Regions from separate parts of the Homo sapiens genome. Here regions 1, 2, 3, 4, 5 and 7 are each linked to region 6. Evidence: promoter capture Hi-C in 16 types of primary human blood cells and fetal thymus (Javierre and others, 2016). All regions are on one chromosome and are shown on one strand. Each heading gives the region's core, a stretch centred on a gene start or on the middle of the fragment in contact. The rest is flanking DNA. Distances are from core to core; before and after follow the strand shown. Region 1 overlaps USP14 (ubiquitin specific peptidase 14). Region 2 overlaps USP14 (ubiquitin specific peptidase 14). Region 3 overlaps LOC105371951 (a long non-coding RNA gene). Region 4 overlaps USP14 (ubiquitin specific peptidase 14). Region 5 overlaps THOC1 (THO complex subunit 1). Region 6 holds the start of CLUL1 (clusterin like 1). Region 7 has its middle 21 kb from the start of USP14.

Region 1 (3,646 bases), core at 642-3,141, 400 kb before region 6:
AGATTATAAATCAATGATGTCTGTCGTTTGTGAAAAATAATCTTTGGATTTTTTTGGATTAAATTATAATTTTGGCTTCAGGTTTGATTTGTATAATACATATCTTTGGGGTTGACTCTGGGGATAGCCAGCGACGGGTTTTATCATAATCCATGTATCATTATAAAAGAGGGTCTTAGTGAATATTGGTGTAAAGAAGTGATGTGTGTGAGGAGAAATAGTAATCTTAAAGGATAGAAATAACTGGTTTCTTCATTGCATAAGAGAATATAACCCCCACCTAATTTTGGACATTTTAATACTGTTAAATCTTTGGGTTAGGTCAATAGGGTTTTACAGCCATGCCTTTTTTTTTACTCTCTCTCTAACAGCTTTATTGATATAGTGTACATATCATAAAATCTGCCCATTTAAAGTGTATAATTCATTGTTTTTTAGTTTATCCACAGAGTTGTGCAAATATTACTAAAATGTTAATTTTAGAACATTATCATTCCAAAAAGCAACTTCATAACATCTAGCAGTCACCTCCTTTCCCATTTCTAGCCCTACCCATTTATCTATGTGTTATTTCTCTCTAGATTTGCCTACTCTGGACTTTTACTCTAAATGGAATTAAATAATATGTAGTCTCTTGTGACTGGTGTCTTTCACTTAGTATAATGTTTTCAGGATTCATCCACATTATGGCATGTATCAGTACTTCATTCTTTTTTATTGCTAAATAAGAGTGCCTTGTATGGACAAGCCACATATCATTTATCCATTCATCGTTGGTGGATATTTGGGTTGTTTCTGCTTTTCGACTATTACAAATACTCCTGACAGTCGTGTACAAGTCTTGGTGTGGACAAATGCTTTCATTTCTCTTTGGTATGCATCTAGGAGTGGAGTTAATTACTGGGTCATATGATTACTATATTTAACCTTTTGAGGAACTGCCAGAATTTTCCAAAGGAGTCCCACCGTTTTACATTTCCCCCAGAAGGGTATGAGGGTTCTGATTTCTCTGTCTCCTTACCAGTACTTAGTATTGTATGTCTTTTTGACTATAGCCATCCAAGAGGTATGAAGTGTTATCTCATTGTTGTCAACCATTGATTTTTGATATTATAAACAGGTTTCTTTTGTGTCATTTGCAGTTAGAGAGATTTTACTCTAACTTTTTTTCCTAAAGTAGACTTACTTGTTGAAATGAAGTTTTTAGTGAGAAAGTGTGATCATTTATATCTACTTCATTTGACAGCTCATGTATCTTAGAATAACTTAGAATTTCAGCAGCTTCTGCAGCATCATATATGCGGCTAATAGTATTGATGCGATGAAAAATACTGTTCTTTACATTTTTGCTTCTTGATTTTTTAACTTTTTGTTTTGAAATACATTTAAATTTACAGAAAAGTTGTAAGAATTCACCAGTTACTAACTTTTAGTCGCATTTGGTTTCTCATTTTTCCGTTATGCATGTAATTTTTTTCTGAACCATTTTAGAATAAGGCGCCAGACATCCTGAATATTTCAGTATGTATTTCCTAACAATAAGGACATTCATAACCACAAGACAATTCTTAATTTTCAGAATCTGGGCTGGGTGCGGTGGCTCATGCTTGTAATCCCAGCATTTTGGGAGGCTGAGGCGGGCAGATCACTTAAGGCCAGGGGTTTGAGACCAGCCTGGCCAACATGGCGAAACCCCGTCTCTACTAAAAATGCAAAAATTAGCCGGGTGTGTTGGTGCATGTCTGTAATCCCAGCTACTCGGGAGGCTGAGGCACGAGAATCGCTTGAACCTGGGAGGCAGAGGTTACAGTGAGCTGAGATTGTGTCAGTGTACTCCAGCCTGGGCAACAGACTGAGACACTGTCTCAAAAAACAAACTTTTTTTTAGAATTTGGGAGTTTCACACAGTACCCTAAAATACAGTCTTTATTCAGATTTTGCCAACTGTCCTAGTATTGTCCATTAAAAAAGTTTTTTTTTTTTCCTTCTTCAGGATTCAGTTTAAGATCCCACATTGCATTTAGTTGTTATATCTTATTAGTCTCTTTTAATCTATATTTCTTCTTGACCTTTTTCTTTCAAACTAATGAAATACTTTTGAGATGCTCTGTTGATGGTATATACTAGATCTTAAATCATCTGTTTTTTTGAGTAGTGTATAAAATATTGTTAAAATGTAGGCTTTTATTTAAAAAAATAATTAGCTTGGTAGTGATGCCCAAATTTCAGCCTTCCCTCCAAAAATATTTTTTAAACATTGTGTTCAGTTTTGTTATTCAGGAACATTTTATTGAGCCCCTGCTTTGTGCTAAGATGCTGTATTTGGTGGGTTCAGTCTGTATAATGATGATAGGTGACATTTCACATCTTGGGTATTAATAAAACATACAAGTTGAGATAAGCTAGAGGAAGAGTTTTGCTGTACATGAAGGAGGGCAAGGTATGATCACTAGGAAGTCCGCAGAGGAGAAATGGTTCGAAATCCAAGAGAACAGACTAGTCCATGACTGTGAGATTCATGCTGCTGAGAGGGGTAAGTGGAAAGAAGGTTTTCTGAAGAAGGTAAATTCTTAGTAGTTTTGGTTCTTAGCTGTCCAGTAGAGTCAGCTGTTTAAGGACCCAGATTTAAATCTCCAGGAGTTGAGTAGATGAGAACCAACTATAGGTTTAAAGGGAGGTAAGTTGGGAGAGGTGACCCGCTATCCTGATCTTGGCAGAGTAGCAGAACAATTACATTATGCCTGTTTGTCCCTAAACAGAGGTTATGTGTTCTTTGTACTGAATTAAAACACCCTGCTTTGTTTGGGAAGACAAAGGCTGGCAAGAAGAAAGAGAGAGGGAGGGCTCAGAAGTTGTTTACAGCTAGTGATTGCTTTGTAAGGTCTTCTGGTGAGTTAAGATTTAAAAAGGATTTTTTTTTTTCTTATTGAGAGTCCAACAATTGTCAAAGAGTAGATACACTTAAAAATGTTTAAGCAGCTGGGTGTGGTGGCTCACACCTGTAATCCCAGCACTTTGGGAGGCCGAGGCTGGCGGATCACAAGGTCAGGAGTTCGAGACCAGCCTGGCCAACATGGTGAAACCCTGTCTCTACTAAAAAAAATGCAAAAATTAGCCAGGCATGGTGGCATGCTCCTGTAATCCCAGCTACTCGGGAGGCCCTTCTGTGTTCAAGCAGTTCTCCTGCCTCAGCCTCCCGAATAGCTGGGGTTACAGGCTGAAGTGAGCGGATCATGAGGTCAGGAGTTGGAGACCAGAGCCTGGCCAGCATGGTGAAACCCCATCTCTACTAAAAAAAAAAATACAAAAAATTAGCCGGGAATGGTGGCGTGTGCCTGTAATCCCAGCTACTCTGGAGGCTGAGGCAGGAGAATTGCTTGAACCCAGAAGGCGGAGGTTGCGGTGAGCCGAGATCGCGCCACTGCACTCCAGCCTGGGCAACGGACCAAGACTCCATCTCAAAAAAAAAAAAAATTAAGTAAGTTTTTGTTTGTATTAATTAAAATTAATTTACAGTCGCGTGTATTAAATATGTGACTGTTTTACTAAGGCAATGTTTGCTTTGTCTTTAAGCCCTTAGAGATTTGTTTGATTCCATGGATAAAACTTCTTCCAGTATTCCACCTATTATTCTACTGCAGTTTTT
Region 2 (3,503 bases), core at 544-3,043, 380 kb before region 6:
TAATACTTACTGTATTAGAAATTAAAACTGAGAAATTAAGAAAGTTAGTTTTAAAAATGATAGTAATAAGCCCATTACATATTAATGTAAAAACAAAATGAGTGAGAAATGGTACTGATTTACATTTTTATGTCTTTCTGTTGTCTGGCTTAAATAGGAGGCAGCTGGGTTCTCCTGTTAGTGTTCGCATTCAGTCTGTTGCATTATCATACATTATGTAGCCTCTGGAAAATTCCAGAGTACACTTGAGAGAATGTGGGTGGAAAAGGCAAGCAGTGCTCTAGTGGTGTCATTGAAGTAGTTGTAACCTGGTGGAACCCCTGCAGTGCCCTTAAGCCTGTGTGGTCACTGGGTCGCACTTGGAGGACTGTTGGTGTGGCCAGTGGAGCACTGCTGTGCCTCCGATGACTTGATACTTTTTTTGCAGTGGAACTCTGAGACGAATCCTGCATAACATTAATTCATCTTCTTGTCCCTGTTATTTAGATGAATGGATTAAGTTTGATGATGACAAAGTCAGCATCGTAACACCAGAAGATATCTTACGGCTTTCTGGTGGTGGAGACTGGCATATCGCTTACGTTCTACTCTATGGGCCTCGCAGAGTTGAAATAATGGAAGAGGAAAGTGAACAGTAATCTTCATTTTAGTATTTATGCTTAGATGTGAAAATAAATGTTATTTGTTGATCATTTCTATAATCCAGAGCTTTAGAGGAAGACACATAGGTGGGTTTATGTTTCACCTCATTTGGAACAAAAGAGGACAGAAGCAGACCACTCTGTGCACCAACCTAAAAAATTACAGAGAAGAGAAAATTATCTTTGGATTGTGCTGCCCTATATAAAGGTGGCAGAAAGACATTTTTAAAAAGCTTATTATTTCTTGCATTATTTTAAAAAGTTCAGAGTTGAAATGCCTTTCAACCATTTCCTTCTGTGGTCATTTTTCTTGCTGCCTTTTTCACCCAAGATTCAGCAGTCAGATGTTTACTGCACACCTATTACCTATTATTTGCTGTTCTTGCATGGTTCAAACCACCATTCTGTAGCCACCCATCCTTTGCCTTATCTAACAAACATTTTTCCAGGAAGGTGGAAAAGGAAGTGTTGCTCTCATTGTGTGACTCAGTGCTGCTGTCCATCCCATGGAAACATGGGCACAATCAAGTATTTGTCCAGCCTATTGCAGGCTTTTCCTGACTTTAAAATAAATTGTGATCAATAATAGTACCTTTGATTATACATTTATTATTGTGTCTCTCTCTGATGTACTGTGGATTGTACATTTAACTTTGGAATGGCTTTGTAATAATCAGTCTTAAGAAAATGTTGACAAGCTCTGGTTGCTTATTTTTAGAAAATGAGGACATTTAATAATAATAAAAAAAAAGGGATTAATAGCTTTTGACCTCAAGTCTTTTGTCTTCTGAGTGTTGGAGCTTGGCTGAAGACATGTTTAATACTGTACAATTTCTGAAGATGGTTATTAACACTGTGCTGTTAAGCATCCATTTAAAAATATTTGTTATCTTCTTTGCCTGCCTGTATTTTAAAAAGAAATACAAAGTTGTAAAAGTAATGGATTTCTTTGGATGCTGAATGCAGTGATGTTATCAGTCAGATTCTTTCCTTGGCTCAGTTGTGTTTGTATTTCCTTTCTTAATTCCCCAAATCTTGGCTGGGCACGGTGGCTCACGCCTGTAATCCCAGCACTTTGGGAGGCTGAGGCAGGTGGTTCACTGGAGGTTGAGTTCGAGACCAGCCTGGCCACATGGTGAAACCCTGTCTCTACTAAAGATATAAAAATTAGCTGGATGTGGTGGTGCACACCTGTGATCCCAGCTACTTGGGAGGCTGAGGTGGGAGAATTGCTTGAACCTGGAAGGCAGAAGTTGCAGTGAGCTGAGATCACACCACTGCACTCCAGCCTGGGTGACAGAGAGACTCTGTCTCAAAAAAAAAAAGAAAAAATTCCCAAATCTTAATGTCTGTTTCAGAATTTTAGTGATTTTAAAGTGATAGTAGAAAATACCAAGCATATGAGGTATTTCAATATGATAGGCTTCTTACATTTTAATAGTTACTCATCTTTGTTCCAGGACCCTTGACTGATGCTAGGGAAAGGATAAAGCATAGAATACCAGCCAGTTTGGCTCTGATTTTGAGTTATTTATAATAAAGTTTGGGGATTATCATAACATCTCATATCTTTGTGTATGTTGTTTTAATGCTCGGCAGAGCACAACACTGATGATAACTATTAAAAATAGAAAATAACAGCCATTTTACTTTCAAATCTGATGTGATGCAATCTGTGAACACTAGGAGGGGATAAAATAAGCATTGCAGGGAAACTTATTTGTAAATAGCTTCCTCACCTAAACTTTGACTTGGCAATCAATACTTTCTACTTTGTGGAGGGGATTAAGAATAGAATGGGCAGGATGAGACCATGAAAATTATAATGATTCATGTATATTTGTATGATGCTTGTAACTTTGCAAAGTCTTTTTTATTCATTGTCTCATTTGGTCAGAACAATTTTATTGAGGACATGAATTTAACAATTAGAATTTAGATTTTCTGACTGTAGCTACTAAATGTTGTAGCTACTAGACCAGGTGAGCTAGGTTTAGAGCAAAGTATATAAGCCTTGTATGGACTATATTAGAATTTTAAAAATTGTAATTAATTCCTTATCATCATTATAAAAAGCTTGATTTTTTTATTTGATCTAAAAAAGCATTATTCCAAAGAATTTTTTCAAGTAGAAATGGGAGTTAGTTATACCAGTGTTGTTTTTAACTAATAAGGCTATTTTAGAATTCAGCCTTGCCTGTAAGGTCTTTGAGAAGGGAGAGGAGTAGGCCAAAAAAAAAAAAGTCTTGATTCCTGAATGTGCCTTATATGCTGTGCCACTCACACCGAGGCCATCATCTCAACATTAGAGTTGTGCTAGATTACTGCTTGACTGACTAGCTAGGTTAGGCCTAAGAGTGTTTACCGAATAATCTGCACTCACTCAGTAGCCCTTCTTCAGGATTAAAAACGATGATGACCTCATCTTAGAGCCCTAAAGGGAAATGCTTATGTGGGAACAAGAAAAGTCGGTGGTACTGTCTTCTGCTACTACTACTTAGTGCTTTGCTGTGTATAGGGTGTGTTCACATATATCTCAGTTGAATGTCACAAGAATCCCTGAAGTGATTAAAAGTCTTGAGAGGTCAGGCAATTTTTGTAAGGCTAGAAGGAAAAGTGAGGTTTTAGACTTCATTTCTTTTAAAGTTGGCAAACAAACATTTTCTGTAATGGACAAGATAGATAGATTAGATAGATAGATAGATAGATAGATGATGATTGATTGATGATTGATAGTAAATTATTTCAGGCTTTGCAGGCTATAAAGTGCTGCAGCTCCTTAGCTTTGCTGTTGTTATAGTGTAGCTGGAGCCATAGACAGTTAGTTAGTTAGTTATGAGTGAGCACAGCTGGGTGCCAGTA
Region 3 (3,442 bases), core at 433-2,932, 440 kb before region 6:
CTGCAGCCATGAACTTCTGGGCTCAAGTGATCCTTCTGCGTCAGCCTCCCAAATAGCTAGGACTACAGGGGCAAGCCACCCTGCCTAGCTACTGTTTTTAATTTTTTTTTTTTTTTGTAGAGACAAAGTCTCTGTTACTTAGACTGGTCTCAAACTCCTGGCTTCAAGCTATCCTCCTGCCTCGGCCTCCCAAAGCACTGGGATTACAGGCATGAGCCACCATACTTGGCCAGGAAATACTTATTGAAAACCTTTTTAGGCAAACTACCGTTCTAGGTTATAGAATGTGTGTGTGTGTGTGTGTGTGTGTGTGTGTGTGTGTGTGCGTATGCATATGGTGTGTATATGTGTGTGTAGGATCCAAAATTATTATTATATTAATTTTTTTGAGACAGAGTCTTGCTGTGTTGCCCAGGCTGGAGTGCAATGGTGTGATCTCAGCTCACTGCATCCTCCGCCTCCCAGGTTCAAGTGATTCTCTTGCCTCAGCCTCCCGAGTAGCTGGGACTACAGGTGCCCGGCACGATGCCCAGCTATGTTTTGTATTTTTAGAGACGGAGTTTCACCACATTGGCCAAGCTGGTCTCGAACTCCTGACCTCAAGTAATTCGCCCGCCTCGGCCTCCCAAAGTGCCGGGATTACAGGCATGAGCCACCGTGCCCGGCAGGATTCCAAATTATTTAAGGCAGGGCTTATAGTTTATTATTTATTATTTATTTTTTAGACAGAGTCTTGCTCTGTCACCCAGGCTGGAGTGCAATGGCGCAATCTTGGCTCACTGCAACCTCTGCCTCCTGGGTTCAAGTGATTCTTCTGCCCCTGCCTCCCAAGTAGCTGGGATTAGAGGCGCATGCCACCACGCCCGGCTAATTTTTTATATTTTTAGTAGAGCTGGAATTTCACCATGTTGGCCAGGCTAGTCTCGGACTCCTGACCTCATGTGATCTGCCCCGCTTGGCCTCCCAAAGAGCTGGGATCACAGGCATGAACCACTACACCTGGTAGGGCTTATAATTTATAATTTAGTAGAGAGAGAAGAGAGAAACATAGGAATATTAAACTGTAGATGCTCTAAGAAGGTGTAGTGATATTTGTTGTTTTCTGTTTTATTATTTATTGTCTGTCCTTGGTAGACAGAAAAATACTTCTACAAATATGTCCATGTTTTAATCTCCTGAACCTATGATTATCTTGGTTGTCTTCCAAAAGGGACTGGCTGATGTGATTAAGGATCTTAAAATGAAAACAGTATCTGGAATTATCCAGTTGGGGCTAACGTAATCACAAGGGACCTTCTAAAAGGAAGGCAGAGGTCAGAGTCAGAGAAGGCGCTATGACGACTCAAGCAGGGGTTGGAGTGATGCTGTGGCTGGAATGGAGCCAGGAGCCAAGGAATGTGGACAGTATCTAGAATCTGGGAAGGGTAAGGAATAGATCCACCCTCAGAGGCCAGGTGCGGTGCCTCACTCCTGTAATCCCAGCACTTTGGGATGCCGAGGCGGGTGGATCGCCTGAGGTCAGGAGTTCGAGACCAGCCTGGCCAACATGGCAAAACCCTGTCTCTACTAAAAATACAAAAATTAGCTAGCGTGGTGGTGCGTGCCTGTAATCCCAGCTACTTGGGAGGCTGAGGCACAAGAATCGCTTGAACCCAGGAGGCGGAGGTTGCAGTGAGCTGAGATGGTGCCACTGCACTCCAGTCTAGGCAAAAAAGTGAGACTCTGTGTGAAAAAGAAAAGAAAAAAAGAATTCACCCTCAGAGCCTCTAGAAGGAATGCAGTCCTGCCAACACCTTAATGTTAAGACCAGTCTCAGACTTCTGACCACCAGAACTGTAAGATAATAATAAACTTACGTTGTTTTAAGCCACTAGGTTTGTGATAATTCATTACAGCACTCATAGGAAACTAAATCAGCCATAATAAAACATAATAGTATTTGACACAAAGGGGTGATTGTATAAGAAGGCTTTCAGTTTATGTGAAAAAGTTAGCATTAAATGGAGATTTTAAAGTTGGACAGGATTTCCCATGGCCAGATGAGGAAGGAGGGTACATTCTAAGCAATAAATTGTAGGTAATTCACCAAGTGAAAACATTTCTGATATTTGGCTATGTTTTATAGAACTTATTTATGTATAAACATGCAGGTTAAGATCTTACCAATTTATTCATTAAAGAAGTCACCCTTAAGAAGAAAATCCCATCCATTAAACACATGGAGGGCAGGGCTTAGCAATGTGTGTCATGGCGATGAGGTCGCTGTCATCTTTAACTCTGACGTTTAGGAAGGCCAGTTGTGCAAATTTCTTTTTATGCTTCCTTTCAGTTGCTAGCATGGTTCCACCTCCTCACTCTGCCCCCATTTGTCTTAAATTTAGGTCTGCGGATCTTCAGAGAGGCTGGAAGAAGCTAGTTGTACCAAAGGGACCAAAACTTGGTCTACAAGATTCCCTGGTCATCTACATGATGAATAAACTTCAAATAGGTAACTTTCACATCCAGTTCTCACAGCATCAAGTAATTCCTGAGTGCCTACGAGATAGCCACGATTCCTGTTTATAGTGTACTTGGGGGAATACAGACATTAAAAAAATAGAAGTGTGATGAGAGTTACTAAAGAAAAAGCTGGCCGGGCATGGTGGCTCACGCCTATAATCCCAGAAGTTTGGGAGGCCGTGGGCAGATAGCTTGAGGCCAGGAGTTTGAGACCAGCCTGGTCAACACAGCAGAAACCCCATCTCTACTGAAAACACAAAAATTAGTCAGGCGTGGTGGTACACACCTGTAATCCCTGCTCCTCAGGAGACTGAGGCATGACGATCACTTGAGCCTGGGAGGCGGAGGTTGCAGTGAGCCAAGATTGCATCACTACACTCCAGCATGGGCGACAGAGCAAGGCTCTCTCTCAAAAAGAAAAAGAAACAACAACAACAAAAAAGCGCAGGTTGCAATGTGAGTGTAGCAGACAGGATGATGATTTTTGCCTCTGAATCTCTCAATCTTTAGGCCTCCTTTACTATCAGCTTCAACAAAGGGCAGCACAGATTTTTCCACAGATGATCTATACATTTTTATTTGGTTTTGTTTTGTTTTTTTGAGACAGAGTCTTGCTTTGTCACCCAGGCTGGAGTGTAGTGGTGCAATCTTGGCTACTGGAACCTCTGCCTCCCAGGTTCAAGCTACCCTCCCATCTCAGCCTCCCGAGTAGCTGGGACTGCAGGAGTGCACCACCACACCTAGCTAAGTTTTAAATTTTTTGTAGAGATGGGGGTCTCACTTCATTGCCCAGGCTAGTCTGGAACTCCTGAGCTCAAGTGATCCACCTGCCTTGGCCTCCCAAAGTGCTGGGATGACAGACGTAAGCCATGGTGCCCGGGCAATCTATGCAATACATTTTTAAATATGTATGTTATAGAAATATGTTACTGAACATAAAAAA
Region 4 (3,487 bases), core at 279-2,778, 430 kb before region 6:
GAGAATTGCTTGAGCCTGGGAGATGGAGGTTGCAGTGAGCTGAGATCATGCCACTGCACTCCAGCCTGGCCAACAGAGCGAGACTCTGTCTCAAAAATAAACAAATAAATAAATAAATAAATAACCCTACAGTGACCTCTAAGTGTTCAAGAGAAAGGAAGAGTTTCATGTCTTTTACTTTCAACAGAAAGCTAGAAATGATTAAGCTTAGTAAAGAAGGCCTGTGTAAAGCCAAGACAGTCCAAAAGCTAGGCATTTTGCAGCAGTTAACCAAGTTGTGAATACAAAGGTCCAGTTTTCAAAGGAAATTTATAATTTAAAAGATAAGTTCTTGAAGTGTTACTGCAATGAACACACAAGTGATAAAGCAAAGCAGCCTTATTGCTGATATGGAGTAAGTTTAAGTGGTGTGGATAGAAGATCAAACTAGCCACAACATTTTCTTAAGTCAAAACCTAACCAGAGCAAGACCCTAATTCTCTTTAATTCTGTGAAGGCTGAGAGAGGTGAGGAAGCTACATTGTCCTCATCAGACTAACACAGGAACAGAAAACCGAACACCGCATGTTGTCACTTGTAAGTGGGAGCCGAGCAATGAGAATACATGGACACAGGGAGGAGAACAGCACACACGGGGGCCTGTCAGGCAGTGGGATGTGGGGAGAGCATCAGGATAAATAGCTAATGCATGCTGGGCTTAATACCTAGGTGATGGGTCTATAGGTGCAGCAAACCACCATGACACAATGTTTACCTGTGTAACAAGCATGCACATCCTGGACATGTACCCTGGAACTTAAAAAAAAAAAAAAAAATATATATATATATATATATATATATATATAAACTGAAGCTAGCAGAAGTTGGTTCACGAGGTTTAAAGAAAGAAGCAATCTCTGTAACATAAAAGTGCAAGGTGAAACAGTAAGTGCTGATGGAGAAGCTGCAGTAAGTTATCCAGAAGATCTAGCTAAGATTGTTGATGAAGGTAGCTACACTATACAACAGATTTTCAGTGTGGATGAAGCAGCCTGATATTGGAAAAAGATGCTGTCTAAGCCTTTCATAGCTAGAGAGGAGAAGTCAGTGCCTGGGTTCAAAGGCCAGACTGACTGTCTTGTTAGAGGCTAATGTAGCTAATGACTTTAAGTTGAAACCAATGCTCGTTTACCATTCCAAAAACCATGGATCTCTTAAGAATGATGCTAAATCTACTCTGCCTGTGCTCTGTATATGGAACAACAAAGCCCAGATGCCAGTACGTCTGTTTATAGTATGGAGTACTGAATATTTTAAGGCCACCATTGAGACTTCCTGCTCAGAAAGATTCCTTTCAAAATATTACTGCTTATTGACAATGCATCTAGTCACTTAAGAGTTTTGAGAGACATAAACGAGATGAATGTTGTTTTCCTGTCTGCTACAACAACTATTCTGCAGCCCATGGATCAGTAATTTCTACTTTTATTATTTAAGAGATACATTTTGTAAGGCTAAAGTTTCCCTATAAAGTTATTTCTCCATGAATCTGGGCAAAATCAATTAAAAACCTTCTGGAAAGGATTCACCTGAATTCTTGATACCATTAGGAGCATTCATGGGAGGAAGTTAAAATGAAGTCAGTATTTACCAGGAGTTTGAAAGAAGTTGATTCTAACCCTCATGGATGACTTTGGGGAGTTCAAAACTTGAGTTGAGGATACAACTGCACATGTGGTGTAAATAGGAAGAAACTAGAATTAGAAGTGGCCAGGCATGGTGGCTCACTCCTATAATCCCAGCACTTTGGGAGTCTGAGACAGGAGGAGAGCTTCAGGCTGGGAGTTTGAGACCAGCCTGGGCAACACAGTGAGACCCTGTCTCTACAAAAAATAAAATTAGTTGGGCATGGTGGTGTATACCTGTAGTCCTAGCTACTCTGGAGACTGAGGCAGTAGGATCGCTTAAGCCTAGGAGTTTGAGGTTACAGTGAGCTATGATTGTGCCACTGCACTCCAATCTGAGTGACAGAGTGAGACCCTGTATCTAAAAAACGAAAAAGAATAGAAAAATGGAGCTTGAAATTGTGACTGAATTGCCACAATCTCATGATACAACTTGAACAGATGAGGAGGTAACTTATGGATGTGCAAAGAAAGTAATTTCTTGAGATAGACTCTACTCCTAGTGAAGAAGCTGTGAATGTTGTTGAAATGACAATAAAGGATTTAAAATATTACGTAGGCTTACTTGATAAAGCAGCAGCAGGATTTGAGAGGTTTGACTCCAGTTTCGAAAGAAGTCCTACTGTGGATAAAATGCTATTAAACAGCACCGCAAGCTACAGAGAACTCTTTCATGAAAGGAAGTCAGTCAGCGTGGCAGGTTTCATTGTTGTCTCATTTTAAGCAATTACCCAGCCTTCAGGAACCAGTGCCGTGATCAGTCAGTAGTCATCAACTTGGAAACAAGACCCCCCACCTGCAAGAAGATCATTAACTGAAGGCTTAGATGATTGTCAGCTTTTTTTTTTAAGCAATAAATTATTTTAAAATTAAGGTATGTGCATTCCTTTTTAGACATAATGCTGTTGCATACTTCACAGACTGATATAAACATGATGTTTGTATGCACTGGGGGAAAATTTTTGTGTGACTTGCTTTATTGCGATATTTGCTTTCTCATGCTCTGGAACCCAAACTGTAATATCTTCAAGGTATCCCTGTGTTTTAATCTATGTAATACTCTTTTGTTGGATAGAAGATAATTTTATCTAAGTCAGTTGATCACATTTTTTAGTGATTTGTACTATGTTGTAAGAAATCTTCGCCTGTGCCAAGTTTACAAGATTTTTTTTTTCTGTTTTCTTGTAAAGCTTGATAAGTTTTAGCTGTTACATTTAGATATATTGTCTGTCTTTTTTTTTTTTTTTCTTTGAGACGGAGTCTCACCCTGTTGCCCAGGCTGGAGTGCAGTGGCACGATCTCGGCTCACTGCAAGCTCCACCTCCTGGTTCACGCCATTCTCCTGCCTCAGCCTCCCGAGTAGCTGGGACTACAGGTGCCTGCCACCACACCCGGCTATTTTTTTTGTATTTTTTTTAGTAGAGACGGGGTTTCACCATGTTAGCCAGGATGGTCTCTATCTCCTGACCTCGTGATCAGCCCGCCTTGGCCTCCCAAAGTGCTGGGATTACAGGCTTGAGCCACCATGCCCGGCCTATATTGTCTGTTTTTTTGAGACGGAGTTCCGTTCTTGTTGCCCAGGCTGGAGTGCAATGGCGTGATCTCAGCTCACCGCAACCTCCGTCTCCCAGGTTCAAGAGATTCTCCTGCCTCAGCCTCCTGAGTAGCTGGGATTAAAGGCATGCACCACCACACCCAGCTAATTGTTTGTATTTTTTTTAGTATGTTGTTGGTCAGACTGGTCTCCATGTTGGTCAGGCTGGTCTTGAACTCCTGACCTCAGGTGATCCGCCCACCTCGGCCTCCCAAAGTGCTGGGATTAC
Region 5 (3,480 bases), core at 715-3,214, 360 kb before region 6:
TTTTATTTTTTTATGTTGAAAGATTTTCCTTGATAGAAACAATGGATTGAAAATAGGAGTCAACAAAACACTGAATCAGGGGTGGAAAGGACCTAATGTGATTCAAGCTAACTGCTTCACATTATACTTAAGGAAACTAGGTCCAGAAAAGTTAAAACTACCTAGGCAAGATTACACAGCTAGTTAGTGACACAGCTGAGAGTAAAACTAATACACTCAATTGTACCCTTTCTTTCATAATATCTACTATCTAGTTCCATTTTTCTTTGGTTATTTAAAAAATTATATCATTTACACTATGTCATGGGTCAAACATTTCATTATTATTATTTTTAGCGACAGGGTCTCACTCTGCTTCTCAGGCTGGAGTGCAATGGCACCATCATAGCTCACTGCAGCCTTGAACTCAGGGGCTCAACCAATTCTCTCGCCTCAGCCTCCTGAGTAGCTAGGACCACCGGCATATGCCACAATGCCCAGCTAATTTTTTTCTTTTAAATTTTTTGTAGAGACAGAGTCTCACTTTGTTGCCCAGGCTGTTGTGAACTCCAGGCTGTTTTGAACTTCAAGCAATCCTGCAGCCTCAGCCTTACAAAGTGCTGGGATTACAGGTGTAGGCCATCATGCCTGGCCCAAATGTTTCTTTGTAAATGTCTTTGTATCTTGAGCAAAGGGCTTTTATTATCCTTAGCTGTATGTATGTATGTATTTAGTACAGAAGGGTCTCGCTATGTTGCCCAGGCTGAACTTGAACTCCTAGGCCCAAGTGATCCTCCCGCCCTGGTCTCCTAAATAGCTGGAACTTCAGGCATACATCACTGGACTAGGCTACTGTCCTTAGCTTTTATGGCACATCTTAGCTCAGGCCTCAGTTTTCCCGATATTCTAACCCTAAAAAGGCTCATGCTTTTCATTTTAGTCATCCTTACATGCCTCTCTGTCAATCAATTTTACATATAAATAATATTCCTGGGTAAAATTAAAGTGTATGAAATCTTCCATTTCTATCAATTTAACACAAAATACATAAAAAACATGTGCTAGAAAATATTCAGAACATTCTCATTAAAATCTTACCAACTGTCATAACACATCAGCTGAGATCAAATTATCCAATTTTTAAATTATGAAATATTTTAAATGTTCAAAAAGGTATAGTTAAGTAATACAACATTCATGTACCCACTACCCAGCTACATATAAAATCCTAACATTTTTTACTTGTTACATATCTGTTAAAGAAACAGAATATCATAGACATTGTTGAAGCTCCCTCTATAACCCTCCCCACTCCTATTTCCCTCCCTCCCTCTACTATGGTAACCACTACCATGTATTTCACGGTTAGGATTTTTATACACATTTTATATTACTACATATGTAAACATCTATAAATAATATATGGATGTACTTTGCACTGTTTCAAACTCTACACATTATGTGCTATTCTGCAATTTGCTATTTTCATACAACACTATGTTTGAAATTTACCCATCTTAATACATGTTGCTCTAGTTCAGGGATTGGCAAATCTTTTAAGGACCAGCCAGAAACTATTTTAGGCTTTATGGACTATATATCTCTGTCACAACTATTTATCTCTGCTGTTACAGAGCAAAAGCAGTCAGAGACAATCTAAATGAATGAGGGTGGCTGTGTTCCAATAAAAATTATTATTCTTATTTATTGTTTTCTGAGATAGGATCTGACTCTGTCAGCCAGGCTGGAATGCAGGAGCATGAATATGGCTCACTGCAGCCTTGACCTCCTGAGCTCAAGTGATTCTCCTGCCTCAGCCTCCCCTGTAGCTGGGACTACAGGCATATGCCACCACACTCAGCTCATTTTAAAATTTTTTTGTAGAGATGGGGGTATCACTTTGTTGCTCAGGCTGGTCTCAAACTCCTGGTTTCAAGCAATCCTCCCGTCTTGGCCTCCCAAAGTGCTGGGATTACAGCCACTGCACCTGGCCCAATAAAAATTATCTACAAAAATAGATGATAGGCCAGATTTGCCAACCCCTGCTATAATTAATCCATTTTCAGTGCTTTATAGAACTGTCACGTAAAATTATCTTATCACCCAGTCTTCTGCTTGTGAACATTGACACTGTTTCTAAACTTTCATTTACAAATACATCATTTACAAACAATGGTACAGTGAATCTTCTTAGAGATTTCCTTGTGTATGTGGGTCCTGTGTAGGGGGCCATATTTAGGAACAAATTTTAACTTCACTAGTTTTTACAAAAGTATTCTGCAAAGTGGTTGATTCAATTTATATTTCAACAGTGTATAAAAGTTCTCATTTTCCCACATCTCTGCCAATACTAGTATTGTTAGGCTTTTCAATTTTGGCCAGTTTGCTAAGTGTATGGTTATCTCATATTTTATCTGCACTAGAGATGCTTAGCAACTTTTATAAGCTCATTCACTATTCAGTTTTCTACATCTTTAAATTACTTTTTCTTATCATCTTTTCAGTTTTCCATTTGGTTGTCTTTTATCAATGGAATATTTTGAATACTAATTTTTCCCGGTTATGTAGGTGACAAATAATCTTCTCCCAGTCTGTGCCTTGTCTTTTTACTTTGCCTACGGTATCTTTTGCTATTCAAGACTTTTACATCTTAATATTAAATCTTAAATACTAAATTGATATTTTTCCCTCACAATTTGTGCTTTTTGTAGCTCAAGAAATCTCTCCCTACTCCAAATTTACATATTTCATGTTTTCTTCTAAATGTTTAAAAGTCTTGCTTTTCTCATTCATACTTTCAATTAACCTGGAATTGATTAACCTAGAATTGACTGTACTGAGGTATAGACTGAATTTTAATTTTTCCATATGGATAATGAATTGTCCAAGCAACATTTATTAAGAATAGGCCAGGCCTGGTGGCTCACACCTGTAATCCCAGCACTTTGGGAGGCTGAGGCGGGCAGATCACCTGAGGTTGGGAGTTTGAGACCAGCCTGACCAATATGGAGAAACCTTGTCTCTATTAAAAATATAAAATTACCCGGGCATGGTGGCGCATGCCTGTAATCCCAGTTACTCGGGAGGCTGAGGCAAGAGAATCACTTGAACCCAGGAGGTGGAGGCTGCGATGAGCCAAGATCGCGCCACTGCACTCGCCTGGGCAACAAGAGTGAAACTCTGTCTCAAAATAAACAAATAAATAAATAATTCATCCTTTCCTCACTAGTTTATAATGCAATCTTCTTTTGTATATTAACCTTTTCTACAATTTGGACTTTCTATTGTTTTAGTTTTCTTCTTCTGTATATTAGTACTAATAATTACCTGCCCTAATTACTATTGCTGTATAGGTCTTAATATCTGACACAGCAAGTGTTCCCGCTTTCTTCATGGTTTTCTTACTCTTGGCTCTTTGCTTTTCCATAGAAATAGTAAGACTAACTTTTTGAGTTCCCATGAAAAAACCCATTTGGTCTTTATAATAAAACAATTTATATT
Region 6 (3,708 bases), core at 243-2,742:
AGGTACTTCTTTAAAAAAGAAGCACAAGAAAGACGGTGACTGGCAACAGCCTCACTGGAATACGTCTCTAATCATCAAGGCAACCCACACTCATTTGGATGTGTGCATCTGGTGATGTTATTATTTTTAAAGTTATGTGCCACAAAGATGCATTCTTTGCTATACAAAAGAGCTGTTGTTAAATTTATAAAGATATAAAAAGGGGAAAGGGGAAGGCACCAAATGGAAGATTCTTAGGCATTAAGTGCTCAGACAGCATAGATCTTCATTAGATGACGTCAGGGAGAAGAGACACAGACTTTGCCATCTCAGGTAGAAGTATCAAAGTCATCAGCCTCCTAGTAAGACAGACCTGGGTTTGAAGCTCTGCACAGCCATTTCCTAGCTGGTCTGGGGAAAAATTACTTCTTGAAGCCTCAGTGTCTTTATTTGTAAAGTAAGTGGAATTATATTACCTTGTCAGGATGTTGTCAGAATTAGAAATAATTTAAAGAGGTCCAGCACGAGCAGGTCAATCAAGGGAAGATGTTAAAAATAACAACAGGTGAAATGTACTCCCAAAAGATAAAGTGGATACATAGATGAATCTTCCTCACACACAGAGTATAATAACCTCAGAAAAATATTGCCTAGAGTAAACATGCCTCCCAAGCCAACGTTCATCATCCAGGAATACGGAGAGGATGTTTGGGATATGGGGGGCATGAAATTTTACAATTGTAGGGCCCTTTAACAAGGGTAGACTTGCAAGTTGCACTGCCTTTCCTGCCCTCTCTGGCTACCTGTTCCAGCATCCAGAGTTTGTGAACCTGGGGCCCAAGGACAGCACCTGGCATGGGCAGGCCCACTTGGCGACTCTCTCAGGGCTGCTGCAGCTGTGTCAGTGTCCCCACAGGGAGGCTGACATCCAGCCATGACCATCGCATTAAGCCCAGCAGTCGGGCAGGGGAGCAACTGCTCAGAGGCACCTTTGACCCACTACTTTTTTCCCCTCCTGCTTTATCTGCCCAGAGCGAGGCTCTCTTTCTAATGTGTACAAGGCGTTCTACCTATGACTCGTGGTCCTGCCATAGAAATGCTTTTTTTTTTTTAACTGAATTAAGTTGCCAAGTTTGAAAAATCAGGAATTTCACATAAGCATCCCTATTTCTGTCTTCTTTTGAAAAACTGAATGTTCTTTCCACAGTGAGCCCACATTCCTTCCTGACGACCATCACCGTTCAGCTGGAGTAGAGAGGGCTCTGCTCGCTTCAGATCCGGACGCGCAGGTCCTCTGCAGGCCCCGCCCACCCGGCGTCACCTGCAGGTCCCGCCCACCCGGCGTCTGCAGGCCCCGCCCACCCGGCGTCACCTGCAGGCCCCGCCCACCCGGCGTCTGCAGGCCCCGCCCACCCGGCGTCACCTGCAGGCCCCGCCCACCCGGCGTCTGCAGGCCCCGCCCACCCGGCGTCACCTGCAGGCCCCGCCCACCCGGCGTCTGCAGGCCCCGCCCACCCTGCGTCACCTGCAGGCCCGGGCCGCGGGGTTGGTTTCCACCCTGGAGGTTGCTGACACCCTGTGCCCTCGGCTGACTTCCAGCCGGTGGCACAGACGCCTCCAGGGGGCAGCACTCAAGCGCATCTTAGGAATGACAGGTGAGAACATCCTCCGGGCCCCAGATTTCTCTCCTCGCCGCTCTTGCCCATTTCTCCGGAGAGCCAGAGAAAGCCGCTCCCAAGTCCAAGGCCGAGCTCCGCAGACGCCCGGCCCCTCCGGCGCGGACAGAACAAAGCCACTGTTCTTGCCGGGGAAGGTAGAAATACTGTGGGCTGCTTCAGAGGCTGCCAGCAAAACTCAGGCAATCTCCTGGGCTGTTCCAATACGTTTATTCTCTTTTTCAAAACAGGAGGAGGAGGTAGAGGCGGGGAGACACACCATCCCTGCAAAACTACTGGCAAAAACTAAGCGGAGCCGGGTGTGGTGGCTCACGCCTGTAATCTCAACACTTTGGGAGGCCGAGGGGGGCCGATCACTTGAGGTCAGGAGTTGGAGGCCAGCCTGGCCGGCATGGTGAAACACAAAAATTAGTCGATTGTGGTGGTGCATGCTTGTAATCCCATCTACTTGGGAGGCTGAGGCAGGAGAATCGCTTGAACCCGGGAGGCGGAGGTTGCAGTGAGCCGAGATTGCGCCACTGCACTCCAGCCTGGACAACACAGTGAGATTCTGTCTCAAAATAAATAAATAAATAAACCCAAGCAGAAAAAGAATCACTCTGAAAACGATCACATCTAACTATCAATGCTCATACAGTTTATGGAATTATCAGCCCAACTTGATAAAATCAGTATTTGAGGAAACTGTGGATAAGCCCCCTGATTTCAATCCCCATTGTGCCAGGTCCTGGTTAACTGAGGTTAACGAAGTAAAGAGCTGCAGACACTATTAACTGCTACCTTAAACCGATTACTCTAGCTTAGCCTACTTTCCACGTACAGATTTTACCAGTGGACAACATGATGCTTTATCTTGTTTTTCTCTCCCTGGGACTTTTCTCCAGACATTGAAAACAGAAATACTAATAAGGCCACTTTTACCTGCCTGATGCAAGAACAGAATTTTCAAACTCAACATTAATGCAACTCCTCAGTCCCTGACAATGGCGGGTGGAAAAGTTTCTAAAAATATGCAGCAGCACAATTATCGGGAAGAGATGAGATACTGTTACCTAATAAAAATGCCATAAATAGAGAATGATGAACTACCATGGGAAATGAATGCATAGAAGAGGACATGCTGGAATGTGGGACAGTAAAAATCACTTAAACTTTGCGTGACCTTGAAGAAAGTCACGATGATCTGTTTTTCCAGGTCCCTCAAACAGTGAGATGTGGCTGTTTCCCAAGTCTTCCTCTCCAGTGTAAAGGGTCTGAATTTAGACGCTTTGTGAGTCTTCCTTCTTTCGACAGCCTGGAGTCTCTCTTGAGTCTCAAGGCTGCCTGAGTTCCTCTCTAACATCCTCTAGGCAGTATCAGCTAATGAGACAATGAATTCCATGGAGGCAGCAGTGGGAACAGAAGTACCTCTCTTGGATAATTTACAACACTGGTGAGCAGAGGGTCAGATCACCCTGGGGTTTGTGTCACAACCAAAAAAGTGGCTGTGGCACTGAGTTCTTGGATGGTTTTCTACAGCTGGTCCAGATTTTCCATGGGCTCACCTTTAAATTAAAAGAATTTCTGCACTTTGAAGAATTTGAAAACAAAGCCATGTGTGAGAATATGAGATCCACTCATATGCCCTTGCAAGAAATAGGTTGCATTCCTTTTTCCGGACTTAAAAAAAAAGCACCCCCTCTTTCTTTTTTTCAGAAGGCATATATGTAAATGATTCCAAATTAATCTTTAGCATGTGCCTATGTTGTTCTGATTTACTAAACTTTAAAAATATGTCCATTGTTGTCTGTTAACAGCTTTTGGCAACTTTTTCAGAGATTGAAATATGTGAGCAAATTAGAGAAATGAGTACAATTATTAGCTAGTACCATTCAACAAGCGCTAAAGATACAAATACCTCTACAATACATAAAAGGAATGATTATAGTAGATTTTATAATGCCATATAAGGTTTCTTATTTAACTTCATTCTTAATTCTCAAAATAAAATGAAATTACATAGAAGCAAAGTAATATAGTTACCAGAATAGTATTTTTACATGTCTTTAAGTGT
Region 7 (3,776 bases), core at 1,103-3,602, 460 kb before region 6:
ACAGAACAAAACAGACTAAAACCCAGGTCTCTCAATTTATAATTGAATGCTTCTGCAACATATAGCTTTGTTTCCAAAACTGAGTTATTAAAATGATGTGCCTTTTAATAAATAAGAGTGCATGTTATCATTCAGTACCTAAAACATAATTACAGAAAACATTTAAATATGTGAGGAAAACCATAAAAACAGGACTCATGTTAGAAAATCATTTTTACAATGTGCACTTTTTTGCATGAGGAATCTTTTGGTTGCAAATGGAAAACCCAACACACACTGGCTAAAGAAGAAACTTACTGATTCATGAAATTTGTTTAATTCAAAGTGCAGGGAAAAAGCTAGCTTTGAGCGTGAGTCCAGTAGCTCCAGTGAAGCTTCTAGCATCTTTGTACCTCTAGCCCACTTTTCTCCTTTGGGGTGGCCTCCTTCTCACAGTCTCCTCATCTTACTGCAGCGCCAGGCCTACGTTCTACAAGTGTAGCAATCTCAGGACAAAGAGCATCTCTGTTGCCTACTTATTCCAGGGGCCAGGGAACTCCTCCCATTAGCTGAGTCACATGTCTCTGGTTGAACCAATCACTACAGGCAGAGGGAAGCCGTGTTCTGATTGGTCACACCAGAGTCACGTGAGGTCAGACCCACACAAACCACCTGCACTGAAAGTGGCGGAAGGACTGGTTTGCAAACCGGCTGCTGTTTCCGGCAAAAAAAAAAAAAAAAGAGGCAAAAGCCACAAATTTTTCTTATAGCTGTTGGTTGCTTTGATTCACTACAGGCAAAACCAAGAAACTATGGCAAATTTTACAGTCAATAAAACTGAGTAAAAATTAAAAAAAGATTTGATAAATAGGTGTTTGGTGGAAAATAAAGTCTAGGGATGATTAATATAAGAAATATTAGTCTAAACATGGTGAGCTTTTCTGTGGAATCAAAAAATCTGAATGTGGCCGGGCGAGGTGGCTCACAGAGGCGGGTGGATCATCTGAGCTCTAGCGTTCGAGAACAGCCTGGGCAACATGGTGAAACCCGGTCTCTACTAAAAACAAAAATTAGCTGGCGTGGTGGTGCGCGCCTGTAATCCCAGCTACTCCGGAGGCTGAGGCAGGAGAATCGCTTGAACCCAGCAGGCGGAGGTTGAATTGAGCCGAGATCGCACCACTGCACTCCAGCCTGGGTGAGAGAGCGAGGCTCACAACAAGGAAGAGAGAGAGAGAGAGGCAGAGAGAGAGAGAGAGAGATCTGAATGTGAGGATCAAAAGTAAATTGAACTCCTGACCTTAAGTGATCTGCCTGCCTCAGCCTCCCAAAGTGCTGGGATTACAGGCATGAGCCACTGCACCCGGCCAAATTGGGAATGATAAAATGTATATGATTGAAAAAGAGTCTGTTGTTTGGGGGGTGTCCACATCTTTTCCTGCTGTTTCCCTCCCACGCACCCTGCACACTACCAATCTTTGTTAAAATGTGTGTAGGTTTCTAGAAGAAAAGCAATTTATCGTCTTGTTGCTGTGGTTCCCAGGTGAGTTGCTAGTAGGAAAACAAGAACACTGTTATTTTGACAGAGCAAGTTGTGACGCTAAGAAATGACTTAACTGCACAGGAGCAGATTTTAAACCAGTATTTCCATTGCTGCCACCTAGTTGTCCACTTTAATTTTCTGCTTCAGTGTTTTAAATCTTGCTCCAAAGTACGTGATATACAAATTATTGTTTATCTCATTATGTATTTGTTAAAGAAAATAAAATGAAATTATATATATATATATATATTTTTTTTTTTTGAGACGGAGTCTTACTCTATTGCCCAGGCTGGAGGGCAGTGGTGCGATCTCACTGCAACCTCTGCCTCCCAGGTTCAAGCAATTCTCCTGCCTCAGCCTCCTGAGTAGCTGGGATTACAGGTGCCCACCACAACACCCAGCTAATGTTTGTATTTTTAGTAGAGATAGGGTTTCACCATGTTGGCCACGCTGGTCTTGAACTCCTGACCTCAAGTGATCTGCCTCAGCCTCCCAAAGGGCTGGGATTACAGGCGTGAGCCACCGTGCCTGGTGAAATTTTATATTTTTAAGATGCACTACTCAATAAAATGAACTTCAGGATGTGTGCTGATATTTAAAACAGAAAGAAAGTCCAGGCACAGTGGCTCATGCCTGCAATCCCAGCACTCTGGGAGGCCAAGGTGGGAGGATCCTTTCAGTCTGGGAGTTCGAGATCAACCTGGGCAACACGGTGAAAACCCACCTCTATAAAAATTACAAAAATTATCCTGGCATGGTGGCACATGCCTGTAGTCCTACCTACTCAGGAGGCTGAGGTAGGAGGCTCACTCAAGCCTGGGAGGTCAAGGCTGCAGTGAGCCGTGATCACGCCACTGCACTCCAGCCTGAGCCACAGAGGGCCACAGAGCAAGACCCTGTCTCAAACAAAACAAAACAAAACAGAAAAAAAATGAATTAAATAAAAGTAGCTCACATCTGAGTTTGTGAGGATACTGGCATCTTGGAAGTTTATGAGAATCTCAGCTTTTCATTTCAAATTAGGCTGGAGGAAGCATATGTGTTTCCATATTGGAATCATAAAACCTTTTTTCCAGAATCACCCAAATTATTTTCCAGAACCAAATAAATGGCCCCTATCTCAGTGTAAGAGCTATGAAATCATCAATTTCAGAAATTTAGTAGAGACCTTTTCACATTTAAGTATATAATACATATACAAATTGTACTAGATAGCCTAATATTTAAAGATATTAGTAGGCTGGGCATGGTGGCTCACGCCTGTAATCACAGCACTTTGGGAGGCTGAGGCAAGAGTATCACCTGAGGTCAGGAGTTTGAGACCAGCCTGACCAACATAGTGAAACCCTGTCTCTACTAAAAATACAAAAATTAGCCGGGCATGGTGGCACGTGCCTGTAGTCCCAGCTACTCAGGAGGCTGAGGCACAAGAATAGCTTGAACTTAAGAGGCAGAGGTTGCAGTGAGCCGAGATCATGCTACTGCACTCCAGCCTGGGCCACAAAGCAAGACTTCATCTCCAAAAAAAAAAAAAAAAGTTAGTATAAATATGCATAGGCCTCAGTTTTAAGTACCATAATTTGAAGAGATGCCAGAATAGTTATTCTTGAATTAAATATTAACAAAATAGTTGCTTTTTTACCATAATGTCAGGAGTATCATATTGAAAAATTATTTACATATATTATTTTTTTGAGAAAGAGTCTTGCTCTGTCATCCAGGCTGGAGCACAGTGGCATGATCTCAGCTCACTGCAAACTCCACCTCCCAAGTTCAAGCGATTCTTGTGCCTCAGCCTCCCAAGTAGCTGGGACTACAGGTGCGCACCACCACACTCAGCTAATTTTTGTATTTTTAGTAAAGACGGGTTTTTGCCATATTGGCCAGGCTGGTTTCCAACTCCTGGCCTCATGTGATATGCCCGTCTTGGCCTCCCAAAGTGCTGGGGTTACAGGTGTGAGCCACTGGGCCCAGCCTGTTTATATAATTAAAGGAGGGTAATGAAGAAGCAGGAGCTGGGGTTGTAGTGGGAAACTGGTTAAAGATTGTCTGGCTCACTCCATAGTGATTGTACTGTTGGGCTTGCCTAACATAAATATAAATATAAATATAATTGAGTGCAACATAATGTTCTTGACCAATTCTCTTTGGATGGCGGGACTCATGACTGGGGGCATTTGTGATTTTTCCACCCACATCTGTTTTGCCTTTCTTCTGGTCTCAGCATCTCAATTTTTGAGGGGCGGGGAGGACTTCC

What was found. The method cuts DNA at HindIII sites, captures the fragments that hold promoters and counts their contacts. A CHiCAGO score of 5 or more calls a contact.
Region 1: a fragment that was not itself captured here is called in contact with the fragment with the promoter of CLUL1 in region 6 in 5 of 17 cell types (M2 macrophages, monocytes, M1 macrophages and 2 more); the score reaches 7.7 in M2 macrophages.
Region 2: a contact is called between a fragment that was not itself captured here and the fragment with the promoter of CLUL1 in region 6, in 4 of 17 cell types (M2 macrophages, M0 macrophages, monocytes and 1 more). The highest score is 8.5, in M2 macrophages.
Region 3: a fragment that was not itself captured here is called in contact with the fragment with the promoter of CLUL1 in region 6 in 9 of 17 cell types (total CD4 T cells, monocytes, naive CD4 T cells and 6 more); the score reaches 10.1 in total CD4 T cells.
Region 4: a contact is called between a fragment that was not itself captured here and the fragment with the promoter of CLUL1 in region 6, in 5 of 17 cell types (monocytes, M0 macrophages, M2 macrophages and 2 more). The highest score is 6.9, in monocytes.
Region 5: a fragment that was not itself captured here is called in contact with the fragment with the promoter of CLUL1 in region 6 in 4 of 17 cell types (M0 macrophages, M2 macrophages, monocytes and 1 more); the score reaches 11.9 in M0 macrophages.
Region 7: a fragment that was not itself captured here is called in contact with the fragment with the promoter of CLUL1 in region 6 in 3 of 17 cell types (naive CD8 T cells, total CD4 T cells and naive CD4 T cells); the score reaches 6.9 in naive CD8 T cells.

Annotation. Positions count from the first base shown.
Region 1 is chr18:193,064-196,709 of GRCh38, forward strand. It overlaps USP14 (ubiquitin specific peptidase 14), which reads left to right. Exons shown (of 16, transcript NM_005151.4): 7 at 3,574-3,646. Among named protein-coding and RNA genes, the nearest start is that of USP14, 36 kb to the left of the region's middle. The HindIII fragment of the contact is 5,788 bases long and covers 1-3,646 here.
Region 2 is chr18:210,647-214,149 of GRCh38, forward strand. It overlaps USP14 (ubiquitin specific peptidase 14), which reads left to right. Exons shown (of 16, transcript NM_005151.4): 16 at 487-3,503. The coding sequence ends at 638. Among named protein-coding and RNA genes, the nearest start is that of USP14, 54 kb to the left of the region's middle. The HindIII fragment of the contact is 1,843 bases long and covers 873-2,715 here.
Region 3 is chr18:153,028-156,469 of GRCh38, forward strand. It overlaps LOC105371951 (a long non-coding RNA gene), which reads left to right. Exons shown (of 4, transcript XR_935081.2): 3 at 2,382-2,488. Among named protein-coding and RNA genes, the nearest start is that of USP14, 3.8 kb to the right of the region's middle. The HindIII fragment of the contact is 5,646 bases long and covers 1-3,442 here.
Region 4 is chr18:170,212-173,698 of GRCh38, forward strand. All of the region lies in intron 3 of USP14 (ubiquitin specific peptidase 14), which reads left to right. Among named protein-coding and RNA genes, the nearest start is that of USP14, 13 kb to the left of the region's middle. The HindIII fragment of the contact is 2,648 bases long and covers 205-2,852 here.
Region 5 is chr18:230,419-233,898 of GRCh38, forward strand. All of the region lies in intron 11 of THOC1 (THO complex subunit 1), which reads right to left. Among named protein-coding and RNA genes, the nearest start is that of THOC1, 36 kb to the right of the region's middle. The HindIII fragment of the contact is 6,171 bases long and covers 1-3,480 here.
Region 6 is chr18:595,496-599,203 of GRCh38, forward strand. CLUL1 (clusterin like 1) reads left to right here and starts at 1,493. Exons shown (of 10, transcript NM_001393344.1): 1 at 1,493-1,634. RefSeq lists silencers at 1,242-1,371, 1,432-1,551 and an enhancer at 1,974-2,473. The HindIII fragment of the contact is 7,229 bases long and covers 1-3,708 here.
Region 7 is chr18:136,005-139,780 of GRCh38, forward strand. No RefSeq gene overlaps it. Among named protein-coding and RNA genes, the nearest start is that of USP14, 21 kb to the right of the region's middle. The HindIII fragment of the contact is 3,960 bases long and covers 373-3,776 here.